5 separate regions of the Homo sapiens genome follow, and all the other regions are linked to region 1. Evidence: promoter capture Hi-C in human tissues and cell types (Jung and others, 2019). All regions are on one chromosome and are shown on one strand. Each heading gives the region's core, a stretch centred on a gene start or on the middle of the fragment in contact. The rest is flanking DNA. Distances are from core to core; before and after follow the strand shown.

What was found. The method cuts DNA at HindIII sites, captures the fragments that hold promoters and counts their contacts. A contact is called where the count stands out against the background at its distance.
Region 2: a contact is called between a fragment that was not itself captured here and the fragment with the promoter of SLC19A1 in region 1, in 1 of the 25 tissues and cell types used here (lymphoblastoid cells).
Region 3: a contact is called between the fragment with the promoter of DIP2A here and the fragment with the promoter of SLC19A1 in region 1, in 1 of the 25 tissues and cell types used here (mesendoderm cells).
Region 4: a contact is called between the fragment with the promoter of ITGB2 here and the fragment with the promoter of SLC19A1 in region 1, in 2 of the 25 tissues and cell types used here (lymphoblastoid cells and spleen).
Region 5: a contact is called between the fragment with the promoter of C21orf58 here and the fragment with the promoter of SLC19A1 in region 1, in 1 of the 25 tissues and cell types used here (stomach).

What each region holds. Positions count from the first base shown.
Region 1 is chr21:45,541,083-45,543,912 of GRCh38, reverse strand. It overlaps SLC19A1 (solute carrier family 19 member 1), which reads left to right and starts at 1,473. Exons shown (of 6, transcript NM_194255.4): 1 at 1,473-1,545. RefSeq lists silencers at 1,200-1,279, 1,320-1,629, 1,980-2,039 and an enhancer at 833-1,345. The HindIII fragment of the contact is 13,138 bases long and covers 1-2,830 here.
Region 2 is chr21:44,946,673-44,949,372 of GRCh38, reverse strand. All of the region lies in intron 2 of SLX9 (SLX9 ribosome biogenesis factor), which reads right to left. Among named protein-coding and RNA genes, the nearest start is that of SLX9, 8.0 kb to the right of the region's middle. The HindIII fragment of the contact is 5,432 bases long and covers 1-2,700 here.
Region 3 is chr21:46,457,465-46,460,164 of GRCh38, reverse strand. DIP2A (disco interacting protein 2 homolog A) reads right to left here and starts at 1,274. Exons shown (of 38, transcript NM_015151.4): 1 at 943-1,274. The coding sequence starts at 1,033. It overlaps LOC124905046 (a long non-coding RNA gene), which reads left to right and starts at 1,452. Exons shown (of 2, transcript XR_007067915.1): 1 at 1,452-1,838. RefSeq lists enhancers at 81-150, 1,921-2,060 and silencers at 871-940, 1,131-1,680. The HindIII fragment of the contact is 5,308 bases long and covers 1-2,294 here.
Region 4 is chr21:44,919,442-44,922,196 of GRCh38, reverse strand. It overlaps ITGB2 (integrin subunit beta 2), which reads left to right and starts at 1,298. Exons shown (of 16, transcript NM_000211.5): 1 at 1,298-1,376. It overlaps ITGB2-AS1 (ITGB2 antisense RNA 1), which reads right to left and starts at 1,162. Exons shown (of 3, transcript NR_038316.1): 1 at 870-1,162. RefSeq lists a silencer at 2,648-2,707. The HindIII fragment of the contact is 46,650 bases long and covers 1-2,755 here.
Region 5 is chr21:46,322,453-46,325,152 of GRCh38, reverse strand. C21orf58 (chromosome 21 open reading frame 58) reads left to right here and starts at 1,283. Exons shown (of 8, transcript NM_058180.5): 1 at 1,283-2,514. The coding sequence starts at 2,415. It overlaps PCNT (pericentrin), which reads right to left and starts at 997. Exons shown (of 47, transcript NM_006031.6): 1 at 871-997. The coding sequence starts at 924. RefSeq lists silencers at 205-664, 935-1,264 and an enhancer at 1,615-1,754. The HindIII fragment of the contact is 24,092 bases long and covers 1-2,700 here.

The DNA.
Region 1 (2,830 bases), core at 224-2,723:
CTGGAGGGAAGGAAGGGCCCCTCCTCCTCCGCGTTGCCCCTCCTGTCTTCCAGCAGGGCCAGGTTCTGCCCACCCGTGGAGAAGGCCAGTACAGGGGAGAGAGCCAGGGCTCCCACAAAGCAGGGGGTCCCTCCAGGTGAGGCGCTCCATCCTGTAGTGTTCCCTTAAATTCTGCAAGCTACCCCAGATCCCCCATTTCCAGCCAACAAATCCTTTTTAAGTTCCTTTGAGATTTGTTCGTGTGGCTTGCTACACTCAGGACTCTGGAAAGAAGGCCCAGGCCAGAGCTTTGGGCAGGCGGCCATTTAGGGCAAGGGCCCTGTGTTGGCTTCCTGGTGGGGTTGCCCTGCTGGTGGGCGGGAGACCAAGAGCACCCCCGCAACACCAGGAGGCAGGTCGCGGATTGTGCTGTCTACACTCCGGAAGGGGTACATTCCAGGGGCTGCTGCCCCAGACTCACCCCTCGCCTGGGACCCGCACTCTTGAGCTGTGGGTACCACGGTGGCCGTCCCCTTCTGTTCTGTGCAGTGGACTTCCTGGCTCCTCCTTAGCCTTGGGGCCCCCACAGCCCTCGGCTTGGCTTCCCTCCCCATAGCCAGGCCCTGGGTAACTCCAGGGGAAAGTGACCCTGAGGCCCCCCACTTCTCCCCGTGTCCTGCACAGGCCTTGGGCTTTCGGCGGTGCTGTCTGCCGCAGCCCCACGCCTTCCTGGGAGAGTGGCCCAGGCCCCCCTTCCTGAGTGTGACTGCGCTGCCGTCTGCGAGGCCTGCGCGGGTCTCCCCCGGGCTGTCCCTGCTGGGATGGGGACTGGTGGCCCCGGGCCACGTCCTGGATCCGGCTTGCTCCTTGGTACAAGCCCGTACGGGTCACGGTCAGGCAGGAGGGCGGGCGGCGGGGTCCCGGGGGCGCCGAGTTCGGGGCCGTGCGGTCCCCAAGAGCAGGCTGTGCGTGTCCCTGTTGGAGCCCCACGAAGGCGGCCCAGGGCCACCCCTGAGGGCGCGTGGGCCCGACCCGCGTCCCGGATCCAGCTTGCGGCCAGGAATGCAGGTGTTCCAGGGTGCCAAAAGGAAAACGCACAAGGCCTCGTCGAGGAGGGGGGGTCAGGAGGGGACCGGGGGTGGGAAGAACGCGGGGGAGAGGGATGGCAGGGTGCCCGCCCGAGGGACCGACACCTCCGCGAGTGGCACCCCAGGATGCTGACGCCGGCGGGGGTGGGGGCCCGAGGGGCGGTCGGGGTCAGGGGGCGGCCCCAGGGGTAGGGCCGCAGCACGAGGGGCCGCGTGACCCCGGCGGTGACCGGGTGGGGAGAGGCCGGCGCCGGGGCTGGGAGACGGCCGTGGGTGGGAGGGTGCCCCGTGGGGACGCTCCTGCCGCAGCGCCCGGCCACGCGCGAGGCCCCGCCCTCAGGACGCGTTCGGCGGGACGGACCCGCCCACCCCGCAGCCGCGCGCCCGCCGCGCCGCCTTGTGGGCGCTGTAGTCCCGGAGTCCGCGTGCGCGGGGCCGGGTCCGGGAGCCCCAGGGCAGCCGCCCCGCCGAGTCGCAGGTACCGGTGGGGAACGGGGCCACGGGGCCGCGTGTCGGGGGCTGCGGGGTGTCTCGGGGCCCTGGGGTGAGTGCGGGGCGCGGGCCGAGGTTTGCAGGGCCCTGTGAGGTGAGTGTGGGGGCTGGCGCTGGGGTCCGCGGGGCCCTGGGGAGGGTGCGGGGCGTGGGCCGGGGTCTGCGGTCTGCAGCCTGGGGTCCGCGGGGCCCTGGGGAGGGTGCGGGGCGTGGGCCGGGGTCTGCGGTCTGCAGCCTGGGGTCTGGGGGGCCCTGGGGAGGGTGCGGGGCGTGGCCGGGGTCTGCGGTCTGCAGCCTGGGGTCTGGGGGGCCCTGGGGAGGGTGCGGGGCGTGGGCCGGGGTCTCCGCGGGGGTCGCGGTGGCCCGGGCGCCTGGCAGAACCGTTGCTGTGCAGCGGGTTTCCCGCCGCTCGCTTTCCGCCGCAGCCTGCGAATGGGGTGGGGAGTCCCGGCCCCCAGCCTGCCCTCCGCGTCATCCTGGGGCGCCAAGTCCCACCCCCGGGTCTGGAGGAAAGCGTGGATCCGGCGTTCGCGCCCAGGCACGTGTTGCTTCGGGACGGGCCAGCCGGTGGGTGAACCCTGCCAGCCACGCGTGGGGCGGGCCCCTGGCACATCTCCAGACCATTGTCTCCTGTGCCAGAAGCTTTGTAGGTGCAACTTCCCCTTGGAGCAGCTGTGGGTGCGGATCCAGCGGAGCAATCCCGAGGCGTCTCAGAGAGAGCCTGGACAGCCGCTGGAGCCTTTCCCGAGTGGGTCCTTCCAACACCGCTACAGCAGGAAAGCCATCCCCCTAGGGTCCTGTCCATCGGAAACTCCTGTCCTGGGGAGTCTGGCCTGCCTGGCCTCAGGACACAGGCCAACTAAGCTGGCCCCGAAATCCAGAATGCATCCAGAGGGAAGGTGGGATAAAGTCCTTGGAGGCGCCTGTTGGCCGCCCTGTAAAGAGGTGGCCTCCCCCTACGGAGACCCGAGGATCCCCGCACAGCCCAGATTCAATCAGCAGAGCCGAGGTGCCTCTGGCCCAGTGCACCTGCCTGCCCTGTCCAGGCCTGGGAGCCAGGCTGCATCTCACTGGCCGCCTTTGCCTGGGTGCCACCTGTGCACTGCTTGTTGCAATTGCTAATTGCTTTCTTTCCGAAGGGGCTTTGGTGGATTTTTATAATTCCAGATAGTACAGTTATCTCTGCTGGACACAGATGAGAAAGAGTGCTTCTCGGGTGTTTGGGCCTGCAGCAGTGATAGCCGGAGGGTCTAATTATGCTGTTAGGAACC
Region 2 (2,700 bases), core at 76-2,575, 590 kb after region 1:
GGATCCACCCCACATCGGTGTGACTGCCAGGCCCGACACTCCTGACAGCCGGGCCCAGGGCCCAGGGCCCACAATCCACTCCCTGATCAGGAGCAGCCCCCGGGCAAGGCCACAAACCGTGCGAGGGGGAGCCAGGGCTGCATGCTCCACAGAGCCAGCAGGAGCGGGAGCAAGCAGCAGCCAAGTCGGGGCTCGGGACCCTGGCCTCTCTGCACTCTTACCCTTGCAGACTCAGAGATGCCTGCTCCTGCTGCCTGGCCTCTCCCTGCTTCCAACGCCCACTCCAATCTCAAAGGGGGGTTGGGGCTGAGCCCAGGTGCTGTCAGAGCCCGGCCGGGTGTGCACACACTCAGGCCCTGCCACCTTGGCCCCCTCTGGACCTTGGGCATCAACAAGCTCTGGGAGGAAGCCAAGGCGGGGGCTGAGGGTGGCTTGGCGCTGGCCTGCAATGGCCGGACCCCACACTTGCTCACACACACACTTCACCGCTCCACGCCTGACTCCAGTCTCCCTTGGAGGCATGAGATCCAGGCCAGTAGCATGAGCTGAGCTCAGCCTGCCAGGCCAAGTAGGTGAAATGAGCCCAGTGGGCCTGGACAAAACTCAAGCAAAGGTGCCACCGGCCACAGGTATCTGGCCAGAAAAGCAACACCCCCAAAATCCTGTACCACCACCGGCGCCTCTCATGCCCCCACCGCCCCCAAGCCGTCCACCATGCTGTGAGCTCCCTCTCCAGCAATGGTGACAGGCCTCCCAACATCCTCTGCTCCAGGGGCCCCCAGCCCCACCCGGCTCTGAGTCCATACCAGGCCTTGCCCCACCCTGCCTGTGTCTCTGAGCTTGAGTCCCAAGTGCCTGTCTGAAAACAGGTGGGCTCGTTTTCTGGTATGAAGGAACACAGAACTAGAAATCCAATTCTAAGCGTGCTCCATGACCAGCTCCCCAGACGCCCGGTGCTCCACGACCAGCTCCCCGGACCGCCCGATGCTGCATGACCAGCTCCCCGGACGCCCGATGCTCCACGACCAGCTCCCCGGACGCCCGATGCTCCACGACCAGCTCCCCGGACCGCCCGATGCTCCACGACCAGCTCCCCGGACCGCCCGATGCTTCACGACCAGCTCCCCGGACCGCCCGATGCTCCACGACCAGATTCCCGGACCGCCCGATGCTCCACGACCACCTCCCCGGATGCCCGATCGCCCGATGCTGCATGACCAGCTCCCCGGATGTCCGATGCCAAGGATTGGAGCCGTGCCCAAGGCTGGAGGATCAGCCACCACTGGACACCCGGCCGGCTGCCAGGCTCTGGTATTGCACAAGCCAGCTAGAGCTGGCCACACAGCACGCACAGCAGGTGGCACTGCGTTGGGGGAGGCTCAGGAGACGGGTGCTCACCCCGGCTCTGCCACAGGTCCCTCGCCACCCCCAGAGCGGACATGGAGGAGCTGTAGCCCCGACATGGGGTCCACAGGCTGCCGCAAAGCCCCTGCATGCACAACCCGGCCCACAGGCAAAGCTGAGTCCTGCTGGGGAGGTGCAGGGGGTCTTAGAGAGCTGGGGCGGGGAGGGGACTCTAGGCCAGCCTCAGCCCTGCACCCATGCCCTCCTCCTCCCGTAGCAGGAGGCTGCAGAGCTCAGAGGGTCCCTCCCAGGATGCCCGTAAGGGTAAGGCAGGCTCCAGGGCACAGGAAGGGAACAGGGGGTCAGATGTGGCTTCCTGGCGAGCTGGGATCCGAAGGGCTTGAAAAAAAACATAGGAACGATGCCATGAACTTGTCAGTCACAGGATAGGAACGATGCCATGAACTTGTCAGTCACAGGATAGGAACGATGCCACGAACTTGTCAGTCACAGGGACTAACAAGCCCCACCACTTCCCAGGGCTAGAGTGGGGGAGGAGGGGTGCAGATGGGCACACGGGTGTCCACCAGGTGATGGGCCACAGCCTAGACCCCTCCCCTGGGCCACCCAGCTCCTTGGCCAGAGACGCAGCATGCAGTGCTATTCCTGACTCAGGCAGGGCACGGACGATGAGACACATCTTGGGAAGGCGGTGTTGCACTAAGCCAGGCAGACAGGCACCCACAGGCCGCCACCTCACCTCCATAGCCAGGCGGGTCATTGAAGGGTGGCGGCCAAGTCACAGGATGCAGTATCTGCATGACATGGGCACTCAGGCCCCAGCACAAACCCGGGGTGGGGTGGGGGTAGGGACGCAGGGCACCAGCCAATCAGGAGCTGAGGAGACCACACCAAAAAAACAGAACTGTTCCTGGAGAGAGGGAGGAACATGGTGAGGAGCAGCCAAGATGCAAAGGACCCCACTGAGGCGCCTGGATACCTCGGAGGCCTGAAGAAAAGGGGCTGGGGCCCCCAGACCAGGGCAAGCCCCTCCGCCTGTGGGGCTACTCCTCTAAGGGTCTGCAGGTCCCACCCATGAGGGTCTGTGGGCCCTGCCACCCTGCCAAGCTGGTGCTTCACATCCCAGGGCAGGGGAAGTGGAGGCCTGTCCCTCCGTCTGAGCCCTCTGTGAGGTCCCATGGTCCCCTTCATCCAGCCCGGGGCTCTTCAGTGCAGAAAACCCACAGCAGGGCGGTGGAAGGAATATGCACCAGAACCCTGGGCTGAGAGCCACAGCCAGAGACGGCTGGCCAGAGGCCTCGCTCCAGGAGGGCTGTAATGGGGGCCCGCGGCGAT
Region 3 (2,700 bases), core at 25-2,524, 920 kb before region 1:
TCCTAAGTGTTATGTGCTTTGCATATATTAAGGTATTTTAGCCTCATAACAATCCAAAATGGAAAGTGCTGGTATAACCCCACTTTATAGATAATAAAATGAGGCACAGGGTGCAGCTCCTAGAGTATGAGGCGCGCGGCAAGGGCTCCCAGCTCCAAGGGAAGTAGCTGCCTGCGGACAACGGGCGCAGTCATCCTGGTGAAGCCCAGACCAAGCCCAGACCTACAGCCTTGAGAAAAGCGGGGCTCACAGCTTGGGGCAAAAGTGGTCATTCCTCTCAAGATTCTCACACCTGTCCAAACGACCTAGTCAAAGCCAGTCCTTGGGGTCGGATCCCATTGGGGGAGCAGCTGGGGATAGGGAAAGGTCTCCAGAAGTTTGGCAGGCGTCCCGGGGTGAGGAGTAAGGGTCCCAGGTGTGAAGGGCCTGGGGGGAGGAGTCCTTGTATGGGGGAGGGGTCCTTGTATGAGAGGCGGGGCAGTGGTCCCTGGTTTGAGGGGCCGCGCGGGTGTCCCGGGGCTGAGGGTCGGGAGTCCGGAGGGGCAGCGCGGGGCTCCCAGGGTGAAGGGCGGGGTCCCCGGGGTGAGGGGCCGCGCGGGGTTCCGGGGGTGAGGGGCAGGAGGTCCCGGGGGTGAGGGGCGGGAGTTCCCGGGGGTAAGGGGCCGGGGTCTCGGGGCGAGGGGTCGTGCTGGGGTCCCACATGAGGGGCGGGGTCCTAGGGTTGAGGAACGGTGTCTCCGGGGCGAGGGGCGGGTTCCAGGGTAGAGGAACCGGGGTCCCGTTGAGGGGCAGAGGTCCCAGGGGCGAGGCCGCGTGGGGGTCCCGGGGGTGAAGGGCGGGGGTCCTGGAGTGAGGGGCCGCGCGGGGGTCCCGGAGTGAGGGGCTGCGCGGGGGACCGGGCTGAGGGCGGGTCGCGGGGGTTGAGGGCGGGGTCCGGCTCACCTTCCGACAGCTCCAGCTCCAGCTCAGCCAGGCTCTCCCGCACCTCGGCAGGCAGCGGCGCCGCCTCCAGCGGGCACCCGCGGTCAGCCATGGCCAGGCCGGCTAGCGTCCGGGCAGAGGCTGGAACCGGACCGGGCCTGGCGGCGGCAGCGCAAACCTCGGCTACGTAGCTCCCCTCAGGCCAACAACCTACATCCGCCAGGCGAGGAGCGGGAGGCGGCGGGACAGGGGCGCGGCCAGGACAGCAACGCACCCGCGCGGGCACGAGCGCGGATGGCTCCGCCGCGCCGCCGCTGCCCCGCGCGCTCCTGAGCGCCCGGCCGGCCCTACACGGGAGCGCGTGCGCGGCGGGAAGGGCGGGTAGCGAGCGCGCGTGCGCAGTGGGTCTCGGGCCCGCGCAGCCCTCCCGGCCCCGCCCAGCAACACCAGAGCCTCGCTTCCATTGGCCCCGAAGACGCGTCGATGCCGCTCCGGGCTCCCATTGGGAGAGGCGGGAGAGCGCCGCTCCCGACAGGCTCTGCGCTGGGCCTGCTTGAGGGTGGCGGGCTTGAGGCGGGCAGGCTGCTTAGTTGCGGCCCGAGGCGCCTAAGTGGGGATGACCAACCCGTGGGCGTTGGCGCTGACCCCTAGGCGCCGCTGGTGGCCCCGCGCGCGGCCCTCCGGCCAGCCCCGCCCCTCTCGGGGCTCCTCCTTGGTCCCCGCGCCATGGCGCGTCCGCGTTGACCGCTGTCTTCCCTTTCGGGCTGTGCTGATCGCGAACGCTGCGCAGTCCGTGGTGGCGTCGAGGCACCTTTCTCGTGCCTTTACCTGTGTTCACTCCTTTGCTTTAAAAAACAGCCCTAGAAGTACACATCGTTGGCCCCGAAGGAGCCCCAGCAGCCATGTCGGACCGCGAGGTGACCTTGGAGGGCGGGAGGACGGACGAGGGGCCTGGCGGAGCTAGACTGAGAGGGCGCCGCCGGCGTCCTGAAGGCCCTGCTCCCCGAATGTGTGGGAGTGTGTCTGACGGTGCGAGGGTGGCTGTGGCGGGGCCTGAGCAGCGTGTCCGTGTCCCGATGCCGCCCGCCTGTTACTGAGTTAGGCAGGAGTGCCCGAGTCTGGCGAACTTCAGCAGTTCTCGTTCCAGAGCTCCACACGAGGTTGGCCAAAGCTTTGCGGGACTTACATACCCTTCTTCCTCCGCCCAGTCCTGCTTCCTTCCCCTTCCTTTCACGGGTGTTGATACCATGTCAACATCCTCGTACCCCAAACTCAGTCGCAGCGTCTGCTTCTGGAGAAACCATTCTGCAGCATTAAAGCTGGTGAGAAGATGGGATTCGAGGCTGCATCACTCACCAGTGGTGAAGTAGGAGGGTGAACTAGTGAAATGGAATCCACGAGTGGGTGAAGTATCAGACATTTCATATATGGTGAACGTAGTAGATAAAAGGAAGGAAAGGGGGATTGGATAGCTATTGCTTAGTGCCAACCGAGACTCTTAAGAATAGTGGTCAGCTGAAGGCAAGCAACAAACAGTTGTAAGCCAGTGAATCTGTCCCGTTACATATAGAGAAGCTTCATTTACTGCAGCAGGTCAAAGACAAGAACCAGGCCCAGGAATTAACATCCCTGTTTGACTGAACTCCAAAAATAGCAAAACACCCAAACAAGGCAATACTCTTCCACTAAGTTTGGATCCCTGCTAAGAAAAGATGAGGCTGGGCACAGTGGCTCACACCTGTAATCCCAGCACTTTGGGAGGCCAAGGCGGGAAGATTG
Region 4 (2,755 bases), core at 49-2,548, 620 kb after region 1:
TAGGCGTTTTGTTTCACAGCGTTAATATTCTTACCACTATTTTTTAAATCAACAGGTTATGACATCATAATTTTTACTTATTTCTTTGCCCAACTTTGTATCATCTGCTCTTGTATTTCTCATGGATTTCTTCATGTCTATTTCTGCAAGACATCTTTAAAACAGAGTTTAGGAGCCGGGAGCCATGGCTCACGCCAGTAATCCCAGCACTTTGGAAGGCAGAGGTGGATGGATCACTTGAAGCCAGGAGTTCAAGACCAGCCTGGTCAACATAGTGAAACCCTGTCTCTACTAAGAATACAAAAATTACCCAGGCGTGGTGGTACATGTGCCTGTAATCCCAGCTACTTGGGAGGCTGAGGCAGGAGAATTGCTTGAACCCGGGAGGCAGAGGTTGCAGTGAGCTGAGATCACGCCACTGCACTCCAGCCTGGGTGACAAAAGCAAAACTCTGTCTCAAAAAAAACTGAAAACATAAAAATAAATAAATAAATAAAACAGAGTTTAGGGTAGTAATGTGTCTGAGTCCTTGCTCTGAAGATGTCTGATTTGGGTTTTTTTTCTAGGTATAATCTCTTTCCCTCCTCTTCCTCCTCCTCCTCCTCTCCCTTCTCTCTCTCTCTGAGCCTGTAGTATTTTCCCTTTCGTGTTCTGTGGTATCCTCCTAATGTCCCTAGTTAACAGGACCTCATCCATCCATCCCTGGGGTGTTCAGTGGCCTCGCAATCCACGTCCCCGCCCAGATCCGCAGCCTTCCTCCTGTGACCTGAGTGTCTCCTCCTCGCTGTCCCTGTTCTGTCCCCTCCCGCCCTCACATGCAGGTGGATGTCAATGCGTGCACGCACCCAGGTTTTCTTGCCTGTTCCCACCTCTTTATCCTCCTTGGCTGGTTCCTCCGCTCCATTCTCTGGCTCAGGAATTTGCTCCCCAGGGTTTTTCATTCCGCTCTGTAGCAGAATGTGCTACTGTTGCTTTCCAGCATCAAACTTTTCACTCCCATGGCCTCTGTGTTCTTCTTCCTAATGGGTGCCCTTTCTGCCTGGCGCTCCTGGAGGCCGGGCCCCTCTCCCAAGTGTGAATCTGATGGAAGCAGGTCCTTCTCGCCGGGACCTCATGTGAGAAATGACATGTCCCACCTGTCTCAAGGGGCCGCTCTCTGACATCAGAGCTGCTGTAGAGCGGAGAGGGGCAGGGGTGAAGGGCCACGGTGGTGCAACCCACCACTTCCTCCAAGGAGGAGCTGAGAGGAACAGGAAGTGTCAGGACTTTACGACCCGCGCCTCCAGCTGAGGTTTCTAGACGTGACCCAGGGCAGACTGGTAGCAAAGCCCCCACGCCCAGCCAGGAGCACCGCCGAGGACTCCAGCACACCGAGGGTGAGTGTGCAGAGGCCCCGCTATGTCCACGGTGATTTTTGGAGGGAAGCACTCTCCTGCCCCAGCCTGGAGTGACCCTGGTGGCCCTGCTTATAGCCCCGGCCCAGGGGTGTCTGGCAGGAAGGGGTCTCCAGACCGTCTGCTCCAGGGTCCCCTTTGAGACCCGGCAAGGGGAAGTGCCTGCCACCAAGAGCAGAGCCACATGGTGTGCTGGGAGCGCTTGCGGCTGAGGATGGGGCCGGCATGGGAGGACAAGGGGCTGTGAGGCCGGCAAGGCCAGGAAGAGGCTGGGCCCACAAGCCCCTAGGGGGACGGCTGGGGGGTCCTGGTGCTCCGGGCTGGGCAGGAGGCAGGTTCCCGGGGCCTCCTCTGTGAACCTGCTGCGCCTGCCTGTGTTAGGCCCTCCTGTCTGCATGCTGCCCCGCCTGGCTACAGCGATTCCATCTCCAGATCGACTCGCAGTGTGTGGTGTGTGATATGGTGTGGTGTGGTTCGTGGTGTGTAGTGTCGTGTGTGTAGTGTGGCATGGTGTGCATGTATGGTGCACGTGTGTGGCATAGCGTAGTGTGGTGTGTGTGTGTGCATGTATGGTGTGCGAGTGTGCGCATGTGATGTGGGGAGTCTGTTGTATGTACATGTATGGTGCACATGTGTAATGTAGTGTGGTGTGGTGTGGCACATGCTCCATGCTCCTCTGGGACCCTCGAGCTTCCCTGCCTCCTCCGTGGGGACCCCTGGGTGACGTCTTGCTGTAGGGGAGCGGGCACCGCTGTGCGATTCTGGTCGAGTTGGTTCAGCTGGTGACCCTGGCCTCCCCACAACAGGCTCCTGGAGGCCATTCCCAAGGTCCTGGTGGGAGGGGGATTGAAGCCACGCCCCTGGGTCCCAGGCCCACCTGGCCCCCTTCCCCCAACACTGCACTCTTGGGGCCAGCCCTCCCCATGCATCCTCCACCCCTGGCACCACCCCTTGCACCACCGTCCCCACACCCAATCCCCCCTCCCCTGGATCTGGGAGCTGGGATTCTGCCCTGCTGTCCCTGTCCATCCGGGGCCCCTCTCCTCTGTCAGTTCCTGGGTGGGGAGAAGGAGGGGTGGCATGGCTGCAATGGGGAAGGGGGGGGATGGCCGGAGAGCTCAGCCTGGGAGCGAGCTGTGGGGGCATAGGGGACACTCGCTGTCACTCGCCTTCCCCGTGACGGTGGCGCAACGCCTGCGGGTTTGGGGGCTGAGGCCGGATTCTGGAGGCTTCACAGAAATGAGCTGCTAGAAGCTCTGGGCTGTCTGCCGTCACCCCAGCGTTTCACCATGAGTGAAGCCCAGCTCACTGCAGAATCCATGCCCAGCTCACTGCAGAATCCCCGGGGGCCAGCACTTTAC
Region 5 (2,700 bases), core at 34-2,533, 780 kb before region 1:
CCTGCCCCCGAGTCATGGGCTCTGCGCGCTTTATTCCCACGAAACCTAGGACAGTGGCCATCAAACCGAGCGCTTTTTCACGGAGAAACCCGGGGCGGGAGAAAGACGGGAGCGCGTCCCTTGAAGGCGCCCGGCGCCAGCGCCGCGTGGGTTCCCGGCAGCGTACGCCAGGCCCGGACGGGCAGGACGCGAGCCCAAGGGCGCGGGAAGAAGACGGCGGCCGGGAGCGCCGCGGGGGCCTTTCACACAGTAAGGACTGCAACGCCGCGAGAAACGCGCGGGGAAAGCATCTCCGACGGACGAGGCGAAGGCGCACCCTGGGGAGGCGCTGCAGGCCACCCGCGCCACGCCCCCGGCCCCGGCCGCGCAGGAAACTGGCCCTAGACCAAGCAGCCACCCGAATACCGGCCGCCCGCCCCAGGCCACCCGGTCCCGGAGGACGCGGGAGCCACTGGAAGATCCAGCCTGGGGTCCAGCGCCTGCCGCGCCCCACCCCCTCCGTGCAGCCACGCCACGCCCCTGTAGCCCCGCCCTGCAGCCACACCCCGCCCCGGCGTGCACCGCGCCCAGCCCGCGCCCCACCCCCCCCGACGCAGGCGCAGCCCCGCCCCGGCCCGCCCGAGAGGCGCCGCGCGTCCCGGCCGCTGATTGGCTGTGGCCGCGGCGGGGGCGGGACCTGGCGGAGAGCGGCGGATTCAAGATGGCGGCGGCCAGGAGGCGGCTTCCAGCGGAGCCGGCGGGAAAAAGCGAGACCTCCGCGGCGGCTTCCGCCGGACCGCGTCCTCTCCTGGCAGGGGGCGGTGGCGGGCACCGGAGCCGCCCTTAGGACTTCACGCCAGAGCAGCTAGAGAAGAAGCCCCTAATGTTTACCTTCGTCCTCCCGGCCTCCACCTTTCTGCGCCGCTGCTCTTGCTCAACTTCCATCTCCCTCAGACTCCGCGCGGGCCGCCCGGCGGTGACGGGGCTGACACAGAGCAGCCTTCGCTCTATTTACACTCCCTCCCCCGCGCTTGGGCTCGCCCTCCCCCCGCGACAACTGTCACGCAGCCGCGGCCCCGCCCCCGACACGCGCCGCCAATCAGGGGGCTGCGTTTCCGGTCTCGCGCACGCGCGCTCTGGGCGGTGCAGCCTGGGCGGAGCCCCGCCCTTTACGCTCGCCGGCCACAGATTGGTGCGCTCACGTACCCGCCTCCTACGGCAGGACCAGTAAGCGGAAAGCGGAGGCCTGGCGCCCGCTGTGATTGGCCGATTTTAAAATCCCCTGCCAGGCTGGCCGAGCGGCAAAAAGTTCGCGCTGCTGGTCCCGCGCGGGCGGCCCCTGGGCTTTGTGTCCACCAGGACAGCGGGCCGGGCTCCCTGCAGGCGCGGGCGGCGCCGAACGGTGCTCAGCAACCACCCGGACAGGGCCAGGCCGTTTTCTCCCGCTCAGGCATTAGTCGTTGGCTGTGGGCCGCCGCGGGAAGTTGAGGCCTACCACGGAGGAGGCTGCTGAGGTGGATCTCAGGGGATCCGCAAGGGCTCCCTCACCCTTGCCGGGACCCTGGGAACCCGAAACAAAATCCTACGCCACCAGCCCGCCGAATGCGCCCCCTCGGCCGGGGGTCCTGGGTCTTCAGAGAAGAACTCGGCCGAATGCGGTCAGAAAGCCCGCGAACCGCCTGGACCTGCAGGCCCCGCCGCTTGGAGCTCCCGCCTTTCCCGACCGAGCCCGTGTCTGCTCGTGTGTCTCACTGATGTCTTAGGTCTCAAAAAAAAAAGAAAAGAAAAGGTTTTTAGTAGACAGAAGAGAAATGGGGCCGTGGGTTCGTGGTCCCAGGGGGAAACTGACGTCGCATGAGGTCGTCGTCCCTCAGCTTGAGCTCAGCGGAACATAAGCTTGCAGAGGTGGAAACCACGGAAGGTTTGGGTGTCTTGGAGCTCTCTGGACACCGAAGCCCGGACACAGTCCCGGGGTCCGCACCGCCTGTGACCTGTGGCGGGACCGCCGGGGTGGGCGTTTTCTCAGCTGGCGCGCGCGTAGGTGGAACTTGGGAAACTAACTGGAGCGAAGTGGCAAAAAACCAAGACAGGGCCGGTGACCTCGCGCAGGCCGTCCTTAACTGTGGAGTATTCCTTCAGCTAACCCCTTTATTTCATGTGTCCAAGTCTGGTTTCTGGGTTTCTTTGTAGTCCTCCGGGCCTGTTCGTGCGCCTTCACTTGCAAAAGGTTCGTCGTGGAGGGCCGTGTGCTTGTTTGCAGCAGTAACGATGCCCTTCCCGAGCGTGCTGGAGTGGCTCCTCGCTGACGCAAGCTCACCTTGCAGCCTCCTCAGCAACTGCAACTTAAACGCGCCCTCAGGAAGCCCTGGAATCTCGCTCAGAATTTTTTTTCTTTTTTTGAGACAGTCTCGCTGCGACGCCCAGGCTATAGCGCAATGGCGCGATCTCGGCTCCCTGCAACCTCCCTCAGGAAGCCGTGGAAGCTCGACCGCCAGAAACTTCCTTCTCCTGACTCAGGCCACAGTCTTCTGTGTGGTGAGCGGGGTGTCCAGCGGTCTCCTGGTTCCCAGACTCGGAATTGGGTGGTTTGAGCAAACTCTGGGCAGTGGGCTCATTAGAGCAGGGGCCAGGCAGGCAACACAGCCAAGCGAGCAGGGGCTGCACCCACAGGATCACACTTTCCAGGAACAGAGACCCAGACCGCGCCTGAATCTCACAACT